Linked DNA regions of Homo sapiens: all the other regions are linked to region 5. Evidence: promoter capture Hi-C in 16 types of primary human blood cells and fetal thymus (Javierre and others, 2016). All regions are on one chromosome and are shown on one strand. Each heading gives the region's core, a stretch centred on a gene start or on the middle of the fragment in contact. The rest is flanking DNA. Distances are from core to core; before and after follow the strand shown. Region 1 has its middle 19 kb from the start of LINC02968. Region 2 has its middle 57 kb from the start of LINC02968. Region 3 overlaps AKAP17A (A-kinase anchoring protein 17A). Region 4 overlaps ASMT (acetylserotonin O-methyltransferase). Region 5 holds the start of DHRSX (dehydrogenase/reductase X-linked). Region 6 has its middle 41 kb from the start of ASMT.

Region 1 (3,749 bases), core at 910-3,409, 790 kb before region 5:
ACCTGTGCAGTGTCCCTCATTTTGAGTTTTTCTGATGTTTTCTCATGGTTAGAGGGAGGCTTTGCATTTTTGGAAGTCCTCTGTTTGTTAGGATGTCAGTGTAAGGCGATGTTACCATGATGTCTACACACTCTTTTTTTTTTTTTTTTTTTTTGGAGACGGAGTCTCACTCTGTCACCCAGGCTGGAGTGCAGTGGCGCAATCTCAGCTCACTGCAAGCTCCTCCTCCCAGGTTCACGCCATTCTCCTGCCTCAGCCTCCCAAGTAGCTGGGACTACAGGCGCCCGCCACCACACCCGACTAATTTTTTGTATTTTTAGTAGAGACGGGGTTTCACCGTGTTAGCCAGGATGGTCTTGATCTCCTGACCTCGTGATCCACCTGCCTCAGCCTCCCAAAGTGCTGGGACTACAGGCGTGATCCACCGCACCTGGCCCTGTCTACACATCTTGACATCTTGTTTCTAGTGATGTTAATCTTGATGGTGAAGGTGGTATGTGCTGGAAATAATCAATGGGTTGGGGGGTATAGACTTGAAGACTATATGCAAATGTCCTGTTTCTTTTTCTTTTCTTTTCTTTCTTTTTTTTTTTTTTTTTTTTGAAAACGAGTTTTGCTCTGTCGCCCAGGCTGGAGTGCAATGGGATGATCTCAGCTCACTGCAAACCTCCGTCTCCCTGGTTCAAGCGATTTTCCTACCTCAGCCTCCCAAGTAGCTGGGATTACAGGCCTGTGCCACCACACCTGGCTAATTTTTGTATTTTTCGTAGAGACGGTTTCACAATGTTGGCCAGGCTGGTCTCAAACTCCTGACCTCAGGTGATCCACACACCTCGGCCTCCCAAAGTGCTGGGATTATAGGCGTGAGCCACTGTGCCTGGCCTTCCCCTCCCTCCCTCCCTTCCTTTCTCTCTCTCTCTCTCTCTCCTTCTCTTTCTCTCTCTCTTTCTCTCTTTCTGTCTCTCTTTTTCTTTCTTTCTCTTTCTTCCCCTCACACCCGTCTCTTCTTATTTTTTTTTTGAGATAGGGCTCTCTCTGTCACCACCCAGGCTGTAGTGCTGTGGCCCAATCTCGGCTCGCTGCAGCCTTGACCTCCGAGGCTCAAGCAATCCTCCCACCTCTCAGCCTCTCAGGTCTCTGGGACCACAGGTGCATGCCACCATGCCCAGCTAATTTTTTTTTTTTTTTTTTTTTTTTTTTTTTTTGTAGAGACAGGGTCTTGCTATACTGTCTAAGCTGGTCTTAAACTCCTGATCTCAAGCGATCCTCCAGTCTCAGCCTCCCAAAGTGATGGGATTATGGTGTGAACCACCGTGCCCAGCCCTATTTCTTCTTAAACCTCTTCATCAGTAATTTTAACATTCACAGTGAATAAGAGATTTTTGATATTTATTCAGAGTGTAGAAGGGGCAGGAAGATGAATCAACAGATGTGGTTGGATTATAAATACATACATAACACATCAGTCCTTTTTTCTTTCTTCTTTCTCTGTTTCTTTCTCTTTCTTTTTCTCTTTTTCTTTCTCTTTTTCTCTCTCTCTTTTTCTCTTGCTCTCTCTTTTTCTGTCTTGCTCTCTCTTTTTCTCTCTCTTTCTTTCATCTCTCTCTCTTTTCTTTTTTTTTTTCAGACAGAGTCTCGCTCTGTCACCCAGGCTGGAGTGCAGTGGCGTGGTCTCAGCTCACTGCAACCTCCACCTCCTCGGTTCAAGGGATTCTCTTGCCTCAGCCTCCCAAGTAGCTGGGAATACAGGTGCCCACCACTACGCCTGGCTAATTTTTGTATTTTTAGTAGAGATGAGGTTTCACCATGTTGGCCAGGCTGGTCTCGAACTCCTGACCTCAAGTGATCCACCCGCCTTGGCCTCCGAAAGTGCTGGGATTACAAGTGTCAGCCACTGTGCCTGGCCATATTTCTGTTCAAGGAGTATTGAGTTTCTTATTTCCTTGCCAGAATGTGGAAATGAGATAAAGACCCCCACAAAAGAGAACAAGCAAAGGCTACTTATTCAGTGCTTGCTGTAGCAGGGGTCCGCCACCATCACAGAAACTCAAAGACAGACAGAGGAGGGGAAAAGCTTTATCGTGGAAAAAGGGAGGCTCAGGTGTGCCCTGAAGAAAGGCTTTGTCCTCCAGGGAAGCTGGAGGCAGCTCACTGGAAGCATGGTGGCGTCCTGGGTGAGTGGTTAGGGGGCATATTTGACTTCCTCTTGTTGGACTTAAATTGGAAATGGGAAGAAGAATTAGGAAAGCTTTCAGGTATTAATGAAGCCTTGGCCACTGGGGGCCAATTGCTGCAGAGGGAATGGATCAGAGTTCTCTCTTTTTTCACATTACAGCCTGTGTGTGACGTGCTATTACATACGGCCCACCACTTGTTTTTTTGTAAATAAAGTTTTATTGAAATGCAGTCAACCCCATCATTTGCATAATGTTTCTGGCTGCTAGTTTTGTTGTTGTTGTTATTTTTTGTTTGTTTGTTTTTTGAGACAAGGTCTCCCTCTGTTGCCCAGGCTGGAGTGCAGTGGTACCATCATAGCTCACTGCAGCCTCTACCTCCCAGGCTCAAGGGATCCTCCTGCTTCAGCCTCCTGAGTAGCTGAGACTACAGGCACATGTCTACAAGGTCTGCTAATTATTTTAGTTTTTGATGATTACTAGATTTTTGATTACTAGTTTTTGATTACTAGTTTTTGATTACTAGAGATGGGGTCTCGCTTTGTTGCTGAGGCTGGTAGAGTTCTCTTTTTATATATGGTCCTAGTGACGGAATGCTGGTGATGAATATGTCAAGATTCGCGCCTCCCATCTCTCAAACTAGGAGAAGCAAATGCTGATGAGACACTAAGACAATTCCAAGGCACAGGGCAATGTTTTCTCGGCTGGCAGTTCTGCTGCGTTTTGTCATGGCACATGTCCTACATATTGGAATTACTCCATCTGCAGAGGAGGAGGAGCCTCAATCTTCAGCTTCAGTGGTGCCTTTGGCAGCAAGGACCTGGAGATTGTTCACTTGTGAAGGATGCAGGGGACAGATTCAGGGCCAGGTGAGCACGTCCATTTAGGGTTTGGGAGCTGGACGGCAGCTCTGATTTTTCAGCCTTCCCATCATTGTTGCAGAAACAGCCATCTCCTTGGGGGATTATCGCATTTCGGTCAGGGAGGCGTGTTTCCCCAACCTCCCCACACCCTGCATACTTCATCCTGTATCTGGTCTTCAGAGCTGTGTCTTCCTCATCAGCCCTCGCTGATGGGGGGTGGCTGGGAGTATCCAGCCTTTTCCACCTGTATTAGGGCATCGGGGGAAAGACAAGAGACGGGAACTGGGTGTGCCTGTTTCTCAACCACCAAAAAGGTCCATCAAAAGTTTATATACTTGGCCGGGTGCAGTGGCTCACGCCTGTAATCCCAGCACTTTGGGAGGCCGAGGCGGGCAGATTACCAGGTCAGGTGATCAAGACCATCCGGGCCAACATGGTGAAACCCTGTCTCTACTAAAAATACAAAAATTAGCCGGGCGTGGTTGCATGTGCCTGTAGTCCCAGCTACTCGGGAGGCTGAGGCAGGAGAATCACTTGAACCCAGGAGGCAGAGGTTGCAGTGAGCCGAGATTTGTGCCACTGCACTCCAGCCTGGGCGACAGAGCGAGATTCCGTCTCAAAAAAAGAAAAAAGGAAAGTAAAAAGTTTGTATATTTAATCCCAGCACTTTGGGAGGCCAAGGCAAGCAGGTCACCTGAGGTTGGGAGTTTGA
Region 2 (3,723 bases), core at 927-3,426, 830 kb before region 5:
GCCAGGGACCACGCACGATGAGGGTGGGCCTCGTCCCATCAGTTGAAGGTCTTAAGTGCAAAGACCAATGTTTTCCAAGGACAAAAGGATTCTGCCTCCCGGGATTCGGGTTCCAGCTGCAGCATTAACTCTTCCTGAGTTCTGCAGCCTGCTGGTCTACCTGAAGAATTTAGTGTTTCCCCTCCAGAATCATTGAGCCAATTCCTTAAAATCTTCCTTTCTTAGGTATCTGTATACACATGCATAAAACCAACATATAACGCCTTCATAGCCAATTCCTTAAAATCTCTCTCTCTCAAATATCTATATGCATGCGTAAAACCAACATACACCGCCTTCATAGCCAATTCCTTAAAATCTCTCTCAAATATCTATATGCATGCATATAACCAACATATACCTCCTACATGGCTATACCTCCTACATGGCCAATCCCTTAAAAATCTCTCTTAGATATTTATATATGTATGTGTAAAACCAACATATGCCTCCTACTTAGACAATTCCTTAAAATCTCTCGCTCAAATATCTATATATGCATGCATAAAATCAACATAAACCTCCTACTTAGCCAATTTCTTTCTTTTTTTTTTTTTTTGAGACAGAGTCTTGCTCTGTTGCCCAGGCTGGAGTGCAGTGGCACGATCTCGGCTCACAGCAACCTCCATCTCCCAGGTTCACGCAATTCTCGTGCTTCAGCCTCCCGAGTAGCTGGAATTACAGGTGCCCACCACCACATCTGGCTGATTTTTGTATTTTTAGTAGAGAAAGGGTTTCACCATGTTGGCCAGGCTGGTCTCAAACTCCTGACCTCGTGATCCGCCCGCCTCAGCCTCCCAAAGTGCTGGGATTACAGGCGTGAGCCACCACGCCCGGCCTTAGCCAATTTCTTAAAATCTCTCTCAAATATCAATACATGTATATATGAAACCAACATATACCTCCTACTTAGACAATTCCTTCAAATTTCTTTCCCTTTCTCTCAAGACCTATAGATGTCTGTATAAAACCAATATATACTTCCTACGTAGCCAATTCCTTAAAATGTCTCTCCTTCAAATATCTATATGTATGTATAAAACCAACATATACTTCCTTCATAGTTAATTTCTTAAAGTCGCTCTCTGTGTATATAGATTTATATAGACATAGATATAGAGATATTATATGTCTACATATAGCTATGCATGAATAAAGCCAATATGTACCTATTATGTATACAAATCCTTAAAATCTTTCCTTTCTCTCTGTATGTATATATATAGATATATCTATATATAGATCTGTATGGATAAAGCCAATAGGTACCTTCTATATTGACAATTCCTTAACATCTCTCTCTCTGTGTATACCTATATATAGATATATAGACATTATATATCTATATGTATGTAAAAACCAACATATACCTCCTACATAGACAATTCCTTAAAATCTCTTTGCCTCTCTCTCTGTCTCTTTTTTGAGACCGAGTCTTGCTCTGTCACCCAGGCTGGAGTGCAATGGTGTGTTCTTGGCTCACTGCAACCTTCACCTCCCGGGTTCAAGCGATGCTCCTGCCTCAGTCTCCCAAGTAGCTGGGGTTACAGGTGCCCACCACCACGCCTGGCTAATTTTTTGCATTTTTACTAGACACGGGGTTTCACCATGTTGGCCAGGCTGGACTCGAACTCCTGACCTTAGGTAATCTGCCCGTCTCGGCCTCCCAAAGTGCTGAGATTACAGGCGTGAGCCACCGTACTCGGCCTAGATAGAGATATATAGCTATTATATATCTATATATTGATATGTATGGACAAAGCCAATATGTACCTCCTATACTGATAATTCCTTAACATCTCTCTCTCTCTGTGTATTTTATATATAGATGTATAGATAGTCTCTGTCTGTGTATATTTATATATAGATATATATTGTATCTATATAGATATATATTGTATATATATATAGATATATAGTATATATAGATATATATTGTATATATAGACATATATTGTATATATATATATATATATATGCATGTAAAAAACCAACATATACCTCCTACATAGAAATTCCTTAAAATCTCTTTGCCTCTCTCTCTCTCTCCCCCACCCGCCTCTTTTTTTTTTTTTTGAGACGGAGTCTTGCTCTGTTGCCCAGGCTGGAGTGCAATGGTGTGATCTTGGCTCACTGCAACCTCCACCTCCCGGGTTCAAGCAATTCTCCCACCTCTGCCTCCTGAGTAGCTGGTACTACAGGTGCCCACTACCATGCCCAGCTAATTTTTTGTATTTTTAGTAGAGACGGGGTTTCACCGTGTTGGCCAGGCTGGTCTCAAACTCCTGACCTCAGGTGATCTGCCCGCCTCGGCCTCCCAAAGTGCTGGGATGACAGGCGTAAGCCACCGTGCCAGGCCTACATATAGATATGTAGCTATTATATATCTCTATATAGATATGTATGGATAAAGCCAATATGTACATCCTAATATTGAGAATTTCTTAACATCTCTGTCTTTGTGTATATTTATATATAGATAAATAGCTACATAGACATTATATATCTATATGTATGTAAAAAACCAACATATACCTCCTACACAGACAATTCCTTAAAATCTCTTTGTCTCTCTCTCTCTATATATATTATCTATCTATCTATCTACCTGTGTCTATATAAGTGTGATTAAAGCCAATATGTATTTCCTATATAGACAATTCCTTCTATATAGACAATTCCTTAACATTTCTCTTTGCATGTGTATGTGTGTGTGTGTATATATATATATATATATATATATATGTAATATCTATATGTATAAAACCAGTAGCCAATTTCTTAAAATCTCTCTGTAACCTATCTACATGTGTGTTTACATGTCTGTCCATAAGTATGTATAAAACATCTACCTCCAGGCTGGGCGCAGTGGCTCACACCTGTCATCCCAGCACTTTGGGAGGCCAAGGAGGGTGGATCACGAGGTCAGGAGTTCGAGACCAGCCTGGCCAACATGGTGAAACCCTGTCTCTATTAAAAATAAAAAGAAACATTAGTCGGGCATGGTGGTTGGCACCTGTAGTCCCAGCTACTCGGGAGGCTGAGGCGGGAGAATCATTTGAACGTGGGAGGCGGAGGCTGCAGTGAGCCGAGATCGCACCACTGCACTCCAGCCTGGGCCACAGAGTGAGACTCCATCTCAAAAAAAAAAAAAAAAAATCATATCTACCTCCTATTGATTTTCTCCATCTTATTGGTTCTGTTTCCCTGTCTGATACACCACCGAAGGAGAGAGAATAAGGGGTCCTCGTGGGTTTGCGGGGTGACTGAGAGAGTCACAGATGACCTGTGGGTGCCTGGATTCCGGGAGGGGACGGGAGGACTCAGGGAAGAAGGACAGGGTGGAATCATCGGAGTTTCCCTCCAGTGGGAGGCCAGGAGCTTCCAACTGCCTCTGTACCCCCGACCCAGCACACAAAAGGACGAGGAGAAGCATATCCTCGTCTCTAAGCATCAGCGCCAATCACGGCAGGTGCCGTGGTAGCAGTGAGCCTTGGCACTCAGCGTTTTTCTGCACTGTGGGTGAAAGTCCGGGAAGATATCAGAACCTGTGGGCCCTGAGTGTCAGTCTTGCCCCTGTGGGTGGAGGGTGCAAGATTCTAGAGCAGTGGTCCTCAGGCTGGGGCTGGGTTAACTCCAGGAGAATCACCCTCTAGAGAGAGAGATGTTCCAATGCAGAGTCCC
Region 3 (3,208 bases), core at 221-2,720, 910 kb before region 5:
AGGAGGCCGTCTCCTGGGCCTGGCAGGAAGCCTCCAGGTTGATGGGGTGGGCGGCCGGGCCGGAGGCGGTCACCTGAGATGGTTGGGTTTCTGCGAGTGAAGCTTCCTCTACTTGGACTTGGCCGTCAGGAAGTGGCTGCCCGTCAGCTCAGCAGGGAAGAGGTGGGTTAATGAAGGTGGGCGGAGAAAGAAGGCGCAGACGGGGGACTCCGGCCCCTAACTTGTGGAAAGTTCGTTGTACTTTTTGGCTTTGAGTGGGTTAAAGCTGGGATACGTTTGGCCTTCGTGGAGATTACTAGGGTTCATGGTTCTGGATTGTTGTTGCAGCCCGAGACTTCCTGTTTTATCAGGGCAAGTACAGGGCCGCCGCCCCCTCCACAAAACCTTTCCAGATGCCTGCAGCTGTGCTCTCCCTGGCCCCTTCCCTTCCCCAGTGTCTCTCTGCCCCTTCCCGTGGAGCTAGGCGTTTGTAGCGTCCCCGTTCCTACTTGACCTGTGTGAGGGGCCTGGTCGTGCTCAGCTTCCTATTCTGCAGGCCTTGGGAGCTGCTGGCTGCTGGATGTAGGGTGTCGGGCAGTGCTGACCGAGGCTTTGACACTAACCTGTTCTTTATCAGCTCGGCTCTTTCCCCTTTGGTGTACTCTTAATGATTTCAAAAAGTAAAGAACTCCGTTGAGATGGCTGTTAACAAAGTGGAAACCGGTCTCTGACACGGCAGAGAGACACTGCTGTTTCTCTTCTCCGGGTCCAGAAAGTGCCTGCTGGCTTGGCCCCTCCTCATTGGCGGGGGAGGTGGGGGGTGCTGGTGCTGACTGTCTGCGTCTTATGTTTCAGGCCCAAGGTCCCGGAGGCTATGGCAGCGGCTACCATCGTGCACGACACGTCTGAGGCCGTGGAGCTCTGCCCTGCTTACGGCTTGTACCTGAAGCCCATCACCAAGATGACCATCAGCGTGGCACTCCCGCAGCTGAAGCAGCCGGGGAAGTCCATCTCCAACTGGGAGGTGATGGAGAGGCTGAAGGGCATGGTGCAGAACCACCAGTTCTCCACGCTGCGTATTTCCAAGAGCACCATGGACTTCATCCGCTTCGAGGGGGAGGTGGAGAACAAGAGCCTGGTCAAGTCTTTTCTGGCCTGCCTGGACGGCAAGACCATCAAGCTCAGCGGCTTCTCCGACATCCTGAAGGTGCGCGCGGCCGAGTTCAAGATCGACTTCCCCACCCGCCACGACTGGGACTCCTTCTTCCGCGACGCCAAGGACATGAACGAGACCCTGCCGGGGGAGCGGCCGGACACCATCCACCTGGAGGGGCTGCCCTGCAAGTGGTTCGCCCTGAAGGAGTCGGGCTCCGAGAAGCCCAGCGAGGACGTCCTGGTCAAGGTGTTTGAGAAGTTCGGGGAGATCCGGAATGTGGACATCCCCATGCTGGACCCCTACCGGGAGGAGATGACGGGCCGCAACTTCCACACCTTCAGTTTCGGGGGGCACTTGAACTTCGAGGCCTATGTGCAGTACCGCGAGTACATGGGCTTCATCCAGGCCATGAGCGCCCTGCGCGGGATGAAACTCATGTACAAGGGCGAGGACGGCAAGGCCGTGGCCTGCAACATCAAGGTGAGTCCTGGGCACCGAGAGAGCCACGCGCTTCCTCCCTCTGGCGACTTCCTTCCAGCAGGGTCAGCAGAACGCTCCCAGCCACACCCCTGAGGCTGTGGGGACCTCCCCTAAGTAAAATGGCAGCAACAGTCCTGTGCCTGTCCAATTTCAGAGGCACAGGCGTGAGGTGGAGTAGGGGTCCCGTGCTGTGGTTTTGGAAATTTGGTATCTTAAGGAAGATGTGGGGGAGACACAGGTCATATAGTAGGTGAGGGATGGAGCCTCAGGAACTCTGACAGGGATTTGAACCGTGTCAGAACCAAGAGAACCCGGCCTTCCCAGAATGCACCTTGAAACCAGGGCTGAACGTTCCCTTTAGCCTCATGTGCTTTTTTATTTTTTTTATTTTTTTTATTTTTATTTTTTTTTCGAGGCAGAGTCTCGATCTGTTTCCTGGACTGGAGTGCAGTGGCGCAATCTTTGCTCAGTGCATCCTCCGCCTCCTGGGTTCGAGCGATTCTTCTGCCTCAGCCTCCCGAGTAGCTGGGACTACAGGCGCGTGCCATCACACCTGGCTAATTTTTGTATTTTTAGTAGAAACAGGGTTTTGCCGTATTGGCCAGGCTGGTCTCGAACTCCTGACCTCATGAACTGCCTGCCTCGCCCTCCCAAAGTGCTGGGATTACAGGCGTGAGCCACTGCGCTCAGCCTAGCCTCGTGTTTTGACCGTGTTGGCTTCACAGTGACAAATGAGCCAGCCTCCTGGAGGGGGTTTTGTGGCCTTAAGATGTGCCCTGTGGGTGTGGGCAGGCGGCCTGCTCAGTGACTGTGGCCACAGGGAATGGTGGAGCCGGGTAGCGGAAGGGGAGCTGTGTCTCGCAGCGGTGGCGTGTCACTTGTGTTCAGTAAGTGGCGAGGGCTAGTTGGTGTTCCTCGCTGAGTCGTAACTCCGTGGGATGAGCTAAGTCTTGAGCCACTGATGGTGACTTGAAGGGATTGGTTTGGCTTCTGGGCTCCACTGTCTGGGTCTGCACCGGACATGAGTGGTGAGCGGTGAGCGGTGAGCGGGCGCTCAGGCTCTGAGGCCACTCGGCCCTACGGCCCAGGAGAGGGCGCCTGGCCGTGTGTCTGGGGGGTTTTGGGGGAAGGCCATCTGACACTGTTTTTGCTTTTAAAGGTTTCTTTTGATTCGACCAAACACCTGAGTGATGCCTCAATTAAGAAGCGGCAGCTGGAGAGGCAGAAGCTTCAGGAACTGGAGCAGCAAAGAGAAGAACAAAAGCGCAGAGAGAAGGAAGCGGAGGAGAGGCAGCGAGCGGAGGAAAGGTACCTTCTGCGGGAGCGGGCCCTCGGCGCTGGTGTCCGGCACCTGGGAGTGTGCGCAGACCCGTGTGCGTGTGTCTGCATGTATTCCTGTGCGTGTGTGTGTGCATGCATGCTTGTGAGCTTGTGTGTGTACCTGTGTGCATGGACGCACGTGTGCCTGTGAACCGGTGTGTGTACTTTGTATGTCCCTATGTGCGCCCGAGTGTGTGCCTGAGCATCTGTGTGCACGTGTGCCTGTGTGTGCGTGCATGTGTGTGAGCTCGTGTGTGTACCTGTGTGTGTATG
Region 4 (3,371 bases), core at 842-3,341, 880 kb before region 5:
AGTGCAGTGGCACGGTCTTGGCTCACTGCAACCTCCGCCTCCAGGGTTCAGGCTATTCTCCTGCTTCAGCCTCCCGAGTATCTGGGATTACAGGCACCCACCACCACGCCCGGCTAATTTTTGTATTTTTAGTAGAGATGGGGTTTCACCATGTTGGCCAGGCTGGTCTCGAACTCCTGACCTCAAGTGATTCACCTGCCTCGGCCTCCCAAGGCCTCATTTCTTCTTCTCACAGAATAACATCGTGCTCAGTGAAGGAAGGCTGACGTGAAAGGCCCCATATGGTATGACTTCATTTATATGAAATGTGCAGAGCAGGCAAATCCTTCGAGGTGGAAAGTGGACTGGTGGTTTGCAGAGGCTGGGCAGGACTGCGGAGGGAGTGTTTAACGGAGACAGTGTCCCTTTTTGGGGTGATGCAAATGTTCTGGAACCCGGCGGAAGTGCTGGCTATACAACATCACGAATGTACTAAGTGCCCCTGAATTATGCTTGAAAAGGGTTAATGATGGCCGGGCTCAGCGGTGACACCTGTCATCCCAACGGTTTGGGGGTCCGAAACGAGGGAATCGCTTTAGCCCAGGAATTCGAGACCAGTCTGGGCAACATAGTGAGACCCCCCATTTCTACAAATTCTTTTTTCTTTTTGAGACAGAGTCTCGCTCTGTCGCCCAGGCTGGAGTGCAATGGCACGATCTCGGCTCACTGCAAGCTCCACCTCCCAGGTTCACGCCATTCTCCTGCCTCAGCCTCCCGAGTAGCTGGGATTACAGGCACCCGCCACCACGCCCGGCTAATTTTTTGTATTTTTAGTAGAGACGGGGTTTCACCGTGTTAGCCAGGATGGTCTCGATCTCCTGACCTCATGATCCGCCCGCCTCGGCCTCCCAAAGTGCTGGGATTACAGGCGTGAGCCACTGTGCCTGGCCAAAAATATTTTAAAAATTAGCCAGGTGGGGTGGTGCACACCTGTAGTCCCAGCTACTCAGGAGGCTGAGGCGGGAGGATCGCTTAAGCCTAGGAGATGAAGGCTGCAGTGAGCTATGATTGCACCACTGCACTCCAGCCTGGATGACAGAGCAATACTGAGTCTCTTTAAAAAATAAACGGCAGGGCGCGGTGGCTCATGCCTGTCATCCCAGCACTTTTTGGGGTCCAAGGTGGGCGGATCACTTGAGGTCAGGAGTTCAAGACCAGCCTGGCCAACATGGTGAAACCCCGTCTCTACTAGAAGTATAAAAATTAGCCAGGCATGATGGTGGGCACCTGTCATCCCATTTACTCGGGAGGCTGAGGCAGGAGAATTGCTTGAACCCGGAGGAGGTAGAGGTTGCAGTGAGCCGAGATTATGCCACTGCACTCCAGCCTGGGTGTCGCAGTGAGACTCTGTCTCAGAACAAAAACCAAAAACCAGCATCATCGTGAAAGGGGGTCGTGTGCTGACGATATTTTGAGATGTCTGCAGCAGCTCTCGTGTGACTTGAAAATATCTGTGGTTTCTCTCCGTCAGCAAGCCACCGGTTTTTTTTGTTTGTTTTTTTCCTTTTTTTTTTTCAGACAGAGTTTCCCTCTTGTCGCCCAGGCTGGAGCGCAGTGGCGCTATCTCGGCTCACTGCAACCTCTGCCTCCCGGGTTCAAGCGATTCTCCTGCCTCAGCCTCCCGAGTAGCTGGGAGTACAGGCGCGTTCCAACACGCCCAGATAATTTTGTATTTTTAGTAGAGATGGGGTTTCTCTATGTTGGTCAGGCTGGTCTCGAACTCCCAACCTCAGGTGATCCTCCTGGCCCCCACACTTTCTTCTATCATGGCTGTGGTTTGCCAGTACGCTCATGGTTGAAGGGAACACCACATCTTAGGAAGAGGTAGTGAAAATTAGAGTGAAGTCTCTTCTCCTTCCTGGTTTGTAGAGCCCGTGAATTTTACCTCTAGGCCCCCAAGGGTTAAAAATACCTATTCCCCAGCCACTGATACGCAGAGCGGCCTCCGCCTACGGGGTTCAAGCGATTCTCCTGCCTCAGCCTCCTGAGTACCTGGGATTACAGGTGCCTGCCACCAAGCCTGGCTAACTTTTATTTTTATTTTTATTTTTATTTATTTTTCTGATATGGAGTTTCACTGTTGTTGCCCAGGCTGGAGTGCAGTGGCATGATCTCAGCTCACTGCAACCTCTCCCTCCCAGGTTCAAGCAATTCCCCTGCCTTAGCCTCCTGAGTAGCTGGGATTTCAGGCGTCCACCACCACGCCCGGCTAATTTTTGTATTTTTGGCAGAGACGGGGTTTCATCATGTTGGCCAGGCTGGTGTCGAACTCCTGACCTCGGGCGATCTGCCTGCCTCGGCCTTCCAAAGTGCTAGGATTACAGGTGTGAGCTACTGCCTCTGGCTAATTTTTTGTAGTTTTGGTAGAGATGAGGTTTCATCATGTTGGCCAGGCTGGTCTTGAACTCCTGACCTTGGGCAATCTGCCTGCCTCAGCCTCCCAAAGTGCTAGGATGACGGGCGTGAGCCACTGACATCCAGCTAATTTTTTGTATTTTTGGTAGAGACGGGGTTTCATCATGTTGTCCAGGCTGGTCTCGAACTCCTGACCTCGGGTGATCTGCCTGCCTCAGCCTCCCAAAGTGCTAGGATTATAGGCATGAGCCAACATGTCTGGCTAATTTTTCTATTTTTTAGTAAAGGTGGGATTTCTGTTACTGTCCCAGACAACAGTAACTTGCTACCTTTGCCTCCTTTGACCGCAGGCCTCCTGCTGGGGCTATTGACTGCTCATTCAAAGACTGTCGCTGGTTCACAGCGGTGTTCAGGGAGGTGGTCTGGTGGGTTCTAAATCTTGGAAGAGCAGTCACTTTAAGGCACATGATACCATGTCATGGGAGTTGTCAGAAGTTTCACAGAACCAGAGTTAATGCAGAGTTAATACCACCTTAAGAGGATCAAACTTAGTACACCCTTAACAGAAACAATTAGCTAATGCAGCTTTCATAGACCAAGAGTGAATATCGCCTTAAGAAGATAACATTTAGTATACCCTTGGCCAGGCACAGTGGCTCACGCCTGTAATCCCAGCACTTTGGGAGGCCGAGGCGGGCGGATCACAAGGTCAGGAGTTCGAGACCAGCCTGGCCAATATGGTGAAATCCCATCTCTACTAAAAATACAAAAATTACCTGGGCGTGGTGGCGGGCACCTGTAGTACCAGCTACTTGGGAGGCTGAGGCACGAGAATGGCGTGAACCCGGGAGGTGGAGGTTGCAGTGAGCCGAGATCACGCCACTGCACTCCAGCCTTGGGGGCAGAGCGGGACCCTGTCTCAAAAAAAAAAAAAAAAAGTGGGGGCTGGGGAGGGAGAGCACTAGGACAAATACCTA
Region 5 (3,504 bases), core at 106-2,605:
CATTAGCCAGGCGTGGTGGCTCACGCCTGTAAACCCAGCACTTTGGGGGACCCAGGTAGGAGGATTGCTTCGGCCCATGAGTTTCAGACCAGCCTGGGCAACGTAGCAAGACCCTATTGCTACACAAAAAAATTAAAACATTAGACAGGTGTGGTGGCTCACACCTGTAATCCCAACAGTTTGGGAGGCAAAGGAAGGAAGATCGCTTGAGCCCAGGAGTTCGAGACCAGCCTGAGCAACATAGCAAGACCCCGTCTACAAAACTTTAAAACATTAGTCGGATGCAGTAGCTGGTGCCTGTAATGCCAGCACTTTGGGAGGCTGAGGCAGGAGGACTGCTTGAGCCCAGGAGTTCGAGAGTAGCCTCGGCAACAGAGCAAGACTTCATCTCTACTTCCTATTACAAAAAATAATAATAATAATAAATTCTGAACCTGCAAATCTAGGAACAGAAGTTATCTGCATACACAAAACACAGTGGCGGTCATCACTGATGAGTTCAGACAGTGAACGAGTCCTGCAAAGTTGGAGATCTGTGACTCAGAGATGTTTACAAAGGCCAAGGAAACAAAGTTGCCACTTAACGGGCCTGCCCTCCCCACCAGACCTCCGTGGCTCCCCAGTGCCCGAGAAGCCGCCTCTGGGCCCCCTCTGGAGACGTCCTCCGGAGAAGGGCCCATCCTCACTTACCCTGGGGTGGGTAGGGGTCGAGGTCCCTGGGACGCCCGCTCCTCCCCTCCGGGGCCTGGCGGGGGCGCGCGGTCACTGGCCGACCGCAGGCGGCAGGCAGAGCCGCCTGATGTCTTGGGCGCGGGGCGTGCGAGCCCCCGGGTCCCCGGCCATGGCCCGGAGGTGTCAGGGTGCGCGGGGGGGCGGCTGCACGGGGGCTGCTTGGTTGGAGCCCGACCCGGGACAGGCGGGGAGGCCACACGCGCGGGGAGGGAAGGGTCGGGCCGGGTCGGGCCGGGCCAGGCGCGCAGAAGAGCCGGCGGGGACGGAAAGCGCGGGGCGGGGAGGTCCCAGCGCGCACGCCGCCCCCCCCCCACCCCCGGCCACACCTCGACCCCCGCCCAGCCCCACTTCCGGGAGCGCCACCGCCTCGCCAAGGTCACGCGGAGCCCCCGCGCCCCCGCCCCCGAGCCAGCCCGCGCCCACCCGGGTCCCCGGAGCCCTGACCCCTGCCCCGCCCCGCTGACCTGGCTCCAGGAAGCCCCCGCGGCAGCGCCGCAGCAGCTGCGCCAGGATCACCGCGGCGCCTACCGCGTAGACCCGCAGGGCCGCCCGCGCCGCAGACAATGGCGACATGGCTGCCCCGGCCGCGCCGCCGCCGCTTCCGCGCCGCCCGCGGGACTCTGCGCCCGCCCGCCCGGACGGACGGCGGAAACGCGCGCGCCCCGGACCGCCCCCTGCCCGCCCCGAACCGCCCCGGCCTGCGGGGAACCCCCAACCCCAGACCCCGCCCGGGCCCTCTGGGATCCCGCACCGCCTGCAGGACTGGGGACCCCGAGCGGACAACCGACCCCAGCCAGGACACCCCCCCCAGGACCACAGACTCCAGCCAGGAACCCCCCCCTGCAAGGACCATAGACTTCAGCCAGGACCCCCCCCCCCAGGACCACAGACCCCAGCCAGGACGCCCCCAGGACCACTGACCCCAGTCAGGACCCCCCCTTCAGGACCACAGACCCCAGCAGGGACCCCCCACACACACCCCCAGCCAGGACCACAGACCCCAGCCAGGAATCCCCCCCAGGACCACAGACCCCAGCAGGGACCCTCCACACCTCCTCCAGGACCACAGACCCCAGCAGGGACCCTTCCCCCTCCCGGCAGGACTGCAGACCCCAGCAGGGATCCCCACCACCACAAGACCAACAGCCCCAGCCAGGACGCCCCCAGGACTACAGACCCCAGCCAGCACCCAAGTCAGATCCATAGACTCCTCCCAAGAACACCCCCCAGGACCCCAGACCCCTGCTGGGACCCCCAAGACCACAGGCCCCCCCACTGGGGCACGCCCAGACACCCCACCAAGAACCCCACCAGGACTACAGACCTCCACCAGGACTCCCCAGTACCACAGATCCTCCCAGGGCCCCCCAGGACCACAGACCTCCACTGGGACCCCCACCACCAGGACCCCTCTCCAGGATCACAGACCCCTACTGGGGCCCCCTTCTAGGACCTCCACCTCCATCACAACCACCCCCCGGACCACAGGCCCCAGCCAGCACCCCACAAGACCACAGACCCCTGCCAGGACGCCCCCCAGGACTACAGACCCCAGCTGGACTGCCTCTCCAAGACCCCACACTCCAGCCAAGACCATGGAACCCCATTCAAGCCCCAGCCAGGACCCCCACCATGGGATCACAGATCCCCTACCCAGACCCTGCAGGGGACCAGGACCACCACGGGAACCACCCTCCCCATCTTAGCCAGAATCATGTAACCCCACGCAGACCTCAGCAGGGACCACAAGGACTTGGACCCCATAGGGAACCCCAGACAACCACCCAGAGCCATGCCAGGATTATGGACCAGGACTCCCACAGAGGACTCTGAACAGCTGTAAGGACCATGGACCCCACACCCTAATTCGTACTGACACCACAGAACCTGCCCCAAGCACGGACCCCACACCCCAGTTCCTGCTGACACCACAGAACCTGCCCCAAGCACGGACCCCACACCCCAGTTCCTACTGAGACCACAGACCCCACCCCAATTCCTGCCAGGCCACAGACACCACCCACCAAACCTACCCCTCCACTTCCCTGCCCCCAACAACCCTGCAGGGATCACAGACCCCCTTCCCGGCCCCTGCAGAGAACTCCAGACTACTTCAGGGACCACGAGCCCCCTCCCCACCCTGATCCCTACTGGGACAGCAGACCCCTACTCAGACCTTGGTTGGGAACCCCAGACAACCACAGAGTTACCTGGGCTCCCTCAGGGAACCCCAGACCAGCACAGAACCCCCACCCAGACCCTTACCAGGGCCAAGGCTGAAATCCCACATGGACCCCCCAGCAGACTCCTACTGGAATTCTTCATGGAACCCCCCACCCAGACACTCAGACCTTCACCCCACCACAACCCTCCCAGTCCCACACCTGGTCCCCCAGGGGACCCCAGACCTGGCATCCGGGACTCCACACAGATCCTAACACCCGCTGTGTTTGGGAGACAGGAGCCTGGGAGAGCTGGGGTGACACCATTTTAATCATCAACTCCATCTTAAAAACCAGGAAGACACATTCCTTGCCGGTCACGGCCCATGGTCATAAGATGTTTACGGCTGAAGAAATGACTTAATAATGCCTCCAAGGACAAACACAGACGACAGCGGAATGTCTGGATGTCGCCATATCGCGTAACCACATATGCTGTTAAAGATAATTACAGTCATGCATGGACGTGCTTGGGCGCGAAAATGCAAAGGATGGCTCTCTCTAAATCAACTAAGGAATAAATGTCACGCCGTCAGACATAACCTAGCTT
Region 6 (3,596 bases), core at 696-3,195, 850 kb before region 5:
CGTGAGCCACCGCACCCGACCAGAGACTCCAGATGTTTCTTACCAGACTTAAGGTCTGTGTTGATGTTCATGCTGAAAATATCAGAGGTGTTTGAACCAGAACGACTCCACCTTGAATAGAGGCTGGGTAAAATGAGGCTGAGACTTACTGGGCTGCATTCCGAGATGGTTAAGGCATTCTAAGTCACAGGATGAGATAGGAGGTTGGTACAAGGTACAGGTCATAAAGACCTTGCTGATAAAACAGGTTGCAGTAAAGAAGCCAGCCAAAACACGCCAAAACCAAGATGGCCACAACAGTGACCTCTGGTCGTCCTCACTGCTATACTCCCACCAACACCATGACAGTTTTCAAATGCCATGGCAACGTCAGGAAGTTACCTTATATGGTCTAAAAAGGGGAGGCATGAATAATCCGCCCCTTGTTTAGCATATCTTCAAGAAATAACCATAAAGGCCAGGTGCGGTGACTCACGCCTGTCATCCCAGCACTTTGGGAGGCCGAGGCGGGCGCATCACGAGGTCAGGAGTTTGACACCAGCCTGACCAACATGGCAAAACCCCATCTGTACTAAAAATACAAAAATCAGCCCAGCGTGGTGGTGCATGCCTGTAGTCCCAGCTACTCGGGAGGCTGAGGCAGAAGAATCGCTTGAACCTGGGAGGCAGAGGTTGCGATGAGCCGAGATCATGCCACTGCACTCCAGCCTGGGTGACAGAGCAAGACTCCGTCTCAAAATCAAAAAAAAAAAAAAAAAAAAAAAGAAAGAAAGAAAGAAAAGAAAGAACGAACCATAAAAATGGGTAACCAGCAACCTTGGGGACTGCTCTGTCTACGGAGTAGCCATTCTTTTATTCCTTTACTTTCCCAATAAACTCGCTTTCCCTTTGGTCTATGGACTTGCCCTCAATTCTTTCTTGCATGAGATCCTAGAACCCTCTCTTGGGATCTGGATGAGGACCCCTTTCTGGTAACAGAGGGGTGTGGCGAGGCCTGGCCAACCTCCACTTCCCAACATGGCATGAACTTTAAATTGAAATTGAAATAATTTCATGTTAAATTTTAGAGTGTCCTGGCCAAGGAGGGAGTCCATTCAGATTTTTATTTTTGCTTTATTTATTTATTTTTTATTTTTTTGAGAAGGAGTCTCGCTCTGTTGCCCAGGCTGGAGTGCAGTGGCCCCAACTCGGCTCACTGCAACCTCCGCCTGCCGGGTTCAAGCGATTCCCCTGCCTCAGCCTCCCAAGCAGCTGGGACTACAGGCGCCCGCCACCATGCCTGGCTAATTTTTTAATTTTTAGTAGAGATGGGGCTTCACCATGTTGGTCAGGCTGGTCTTGAACTCCTGACCTCGTGATCCGTCTGCCTCAGCCTCCTAAAGTGCTGGGATCACAGGCATGAGCCACCACGCCCGGCCTATTTTTGGTTTATGAGAGGAGCTGCTGATACCTGGAGACTTGATACCCACAAGCTCCCCTTAGCCACAGTTCCAAAACAGGACATGGCTCAAGACCGCGTCTGGGGAGGAGGGGGAGACAGGATAATTCAGGCCTGCTGGGTGCTGCCTGCTGGGGGTACCCAGGGTCTGTAGATGTGTAAAGCCAGAGAGCTGGGACCAGAGTCTGCTGTTTCATTTTGCCCAAGACTTTCTGTGGGCCTCCTGGAATAAGGCAGACCAGCTGATGGTTGTTTTTTTTTTTTTTGACAGAGTCTTTCTCTGTCACCCAGGCTGGAGTGCAATGGCGCGATCTCGCCTCACTGCAACCTCCGTCTCCCAGGTTCAAGTGATTCCCCTGCCTCAGCCTCCCGAGTAGCTGGGACTACAGGTGCGCACCACCATGCCTGGCTAAATTTTGTATTTTTAGTAGAGATGGGGTTTCAGCATGTTGGTTAGGCTGGTCTTGTACTCCTGACCTCAAGTGATCCACCAGCCTCGGCCTCCCAAAGTCCTGGGATGACAGGCGTGAGCCACCACGCCAGGCCCGGGTAATATCTCTTATAGCTAGAGTGATTTTAGAGTGACCTTCGCATATCGTGACCCGTGAGTGAGTTTCCTGGGCGTGATGGTTAATACTGAATGGCAGCTTGATTGGATTGAAAGATCCAATCAAAGCGTTGTTCCTGGGTGTGTCTGTGAGGGTGTTGCCAAAGGAGAATAACACTAGAGTCAGTGGACTCGGAGAGGCAGAACCCCCCTCAATCTGGGTGGGCACCGTCTCATCAGCTGCCAGTCTGGCCAGAATAAAAGCAGGCAGAGGAGCGTGAAAAGGCTAGACTGGCTTAGCCTCCCAGCCTCCATCTTCCTCCTTTGCTGGATGCTTCCTGCCCTGGACCACTGGACTCCAAGTTCTTAATCCTTGGGACTCAGACTGGCTTCCTGCCTCCTCAGCTTGTAGATGACCTATGGTGGGACCTCACCTTGTGACTCTGTGAGTTAATTCTCCTTAATAAACTCCCCTTCATATATATATAATTCATGTGGACTCTTTCTAGACCATATAGATTGTATTAGTCAGGGTTCCTTAGAGGAATAGAACAAATAGAAGATACACACACACGCACACACACATATATATGTACGTATATGTGTGTATATATACACGTGTATATATACACACATATATACACGTGTATACACACACATGTGTATATATACATGTATACACATATATGTGTATATGCACATGTGTATACACACATATGTGCATGTACACATATGTGCATATACGCATATATACACGTGTGTATACGCATATATACGTGTGTACACGCATATATACACGTGTGTACACACATATATACACGTGTGTACACGCATATATACACGTGTGTATACGCATATATACACACATACACACATATATACACACATATACACACACACATATATATACACACACAATACATATATATGTGTGTGTGTGTGTGCGTGTGTGTGTATATATCTTCTATTAGTTCTATTCCTCTAAGGAACCCTGACTAATACAATGTATATGGTCTAAAAAGAGTCCATATGAATAATCCACTCCTAGTTTAGCATATCATCAAGAAATAACCATAAAAATGGGGGCCAGGTGTGGTGGCTCACGCCTGTCATCCCAGCACTTTGGGAGGCCGAGGTGGGTGGATCGCCTGAGGTCGGGAGTTTGAGACCAGCCTGGCCAACATGGTGAAACCCCATCTCTACTAAAAATACAAAAAAAATTAGTCGGGCATGGTGGCAGTTACCTGTAATCCCAGCTACTCGGGAGGCTGAGGCAGGAGAATCGCTTGAACCCGGGTGGCGGAGGTTGCAGTGAGCCGAGATCACGCCACTGCACTCCAGCGTGGGTGACAGAGTGAGACTCCATCTCAAAAAAAAGAGAAAAGGTTGTATTCTTTTGAGTCCTTGATAGCCTCTGACTGAATACATCATGTATTAGTTTGGTGTAGAAGTAACGGAGTGAAAACAAAAACAACAAAACAACCACCACCACCACCACAACAAAAAACACCCAGGCACAAAAGTGCAAAATGGCACAATATCATTTGCATGAAGTGTCTAGAATAAGACTGCTTGCAGAGTCAGAGAGCAGATGGGTGATTGCTTAAGGCT

The links. Contacts are between HindIII fragments. The CHiCAGO score rates a contact against its expected background, and 5 or more counts as called.
Region 1: a fragment that was not itself captured here is called in contact with the fragment with the promoter of DHRSX in region 5 in 8 of 17 cell types (naive B cells, naive CD4 T cells, total CD8 T cells and 5 more); the score reaches 8.4 in naive B cells.
Region 2: a fragment that was not itself captured here is called in contact with the fragment with the promoter of DHRSX in region 5 in 13 of 17 cell types (total CD8 T cells, neutrophils, naive B cells and 10 more); the score reaches 10.8 in total CD8 T cells.
Region 3: a contact is called between a fragment that was not itself captured here and the fragment with the promoter of DHRSX in region 5, in 16 of 17 cell types (naive B cells, fetal thymus, endothelial precursors and 13 more). The highest score is 11.4, in naive B cells.
Region 4: a contact is called between a fragment that was not itself captured here and the fragment with the promoter of DHRSX in region 5, in 10 of 17 cell types (naive CD4 T cells, neutrophils, M2 macrophages and 7 more). The highest score is 7.0, in naive CD4 T cells.
Region 6: a contact is called between a fragment that was not itself captured here and the fragment with the promoter of DHRSX in region 5, in 17 of 17 cell types (naive CD8 T cells, total CD8 T cells, megakaryocytes and 14 more). The highest score is 18.0, in naive CD8 T cells.

What each region holds. Positions count from the first base shown.
Region 1 is chrX:1,711,102-1,714,850 of GRCh38, forward strand. No RefSeq gene overlaps it. Among named protein-coding and RNA genes, the nearest start is that of LINC02968, 19 kb to the right of the region's middle. The HindIII fragment of the contact is 174 bases long and covers 2,073-2,246 here.
Region 2 is chrX:1,673,614-1,677,336 of GRCh38, forward strand. No RefSeq gene overlaps it. Among named protein-coding and RNA genes, the nearest start is that of LINC02968, 57 kb to the right of the region's middle. The HindIII fragment of the contact is 10,000 bases long and covers 1-3,723 here.
Region 3 is chrX:1,592,610-1,595,817 of GRCh38, forward strand. AKAP17A (A-kinase anchoring protein 17A) reads left to right here. Exons shown (of 5, transcript NM_005088.3): 2 at 835-1,615; 3 at 2,775-2,923. The coding sequence starts at 854. Among named protein-coding and RNA genes, the nearest start is that of AKAP17A, 2.6 kb to the left of the region's middle. The HindIII fragment of the contact is 2,741 bases long and covers 101-2,841 here.
Region 4 is chrX:1,616,079-1,619,449 of GRCh38, forward strand. The region is part of intron 1 of ASMT (acetylserotonin O-methyltransferase); the gene reads left to right. Among named protein-coding and RNA genes, the nearest start is that of ASMT, 2.7 kb to the left of the region's middle. RefSeq lists an enhancer at 2,432-3,069. The HindIII fragment of the contact is 4,661 bases long and covers 1-3,371 here.
Region 5 is chrX:2,499,621-2,503,124 of GRCh38, forward strand. It overlaps DHRSX (dehydrogenase/reductase X-linked), which reads right to left and starts at 1,356. Exons shown (of 7, transcript NM_145177.3): 1 at 1,197-1,356. The coding sequence starts at 1,305. It overlaps ZBED1 (zinc finger BED-type containing 1), which reads right to left and starts at 1,356. Exons shown (of 2, transcript NM_001171136.2): 1 at 1,197-1,356. The HindIII fragment of the contact is 4,150 bases long and covers 1-3,504 here.
Region 6 is chrX:1,653,870-1,657,465 of GRCh38, forward strand. No RefSeq gene overlaps it. Among named protein-coding and RNA genes, the nearest start is that of ASMT, 41 kb to the left of the region's middle. RefSeq lists an enhancer at 3,429-3,596. The HindIII fragment of the contact is 4,584 bases long and covers 1-3,596 here.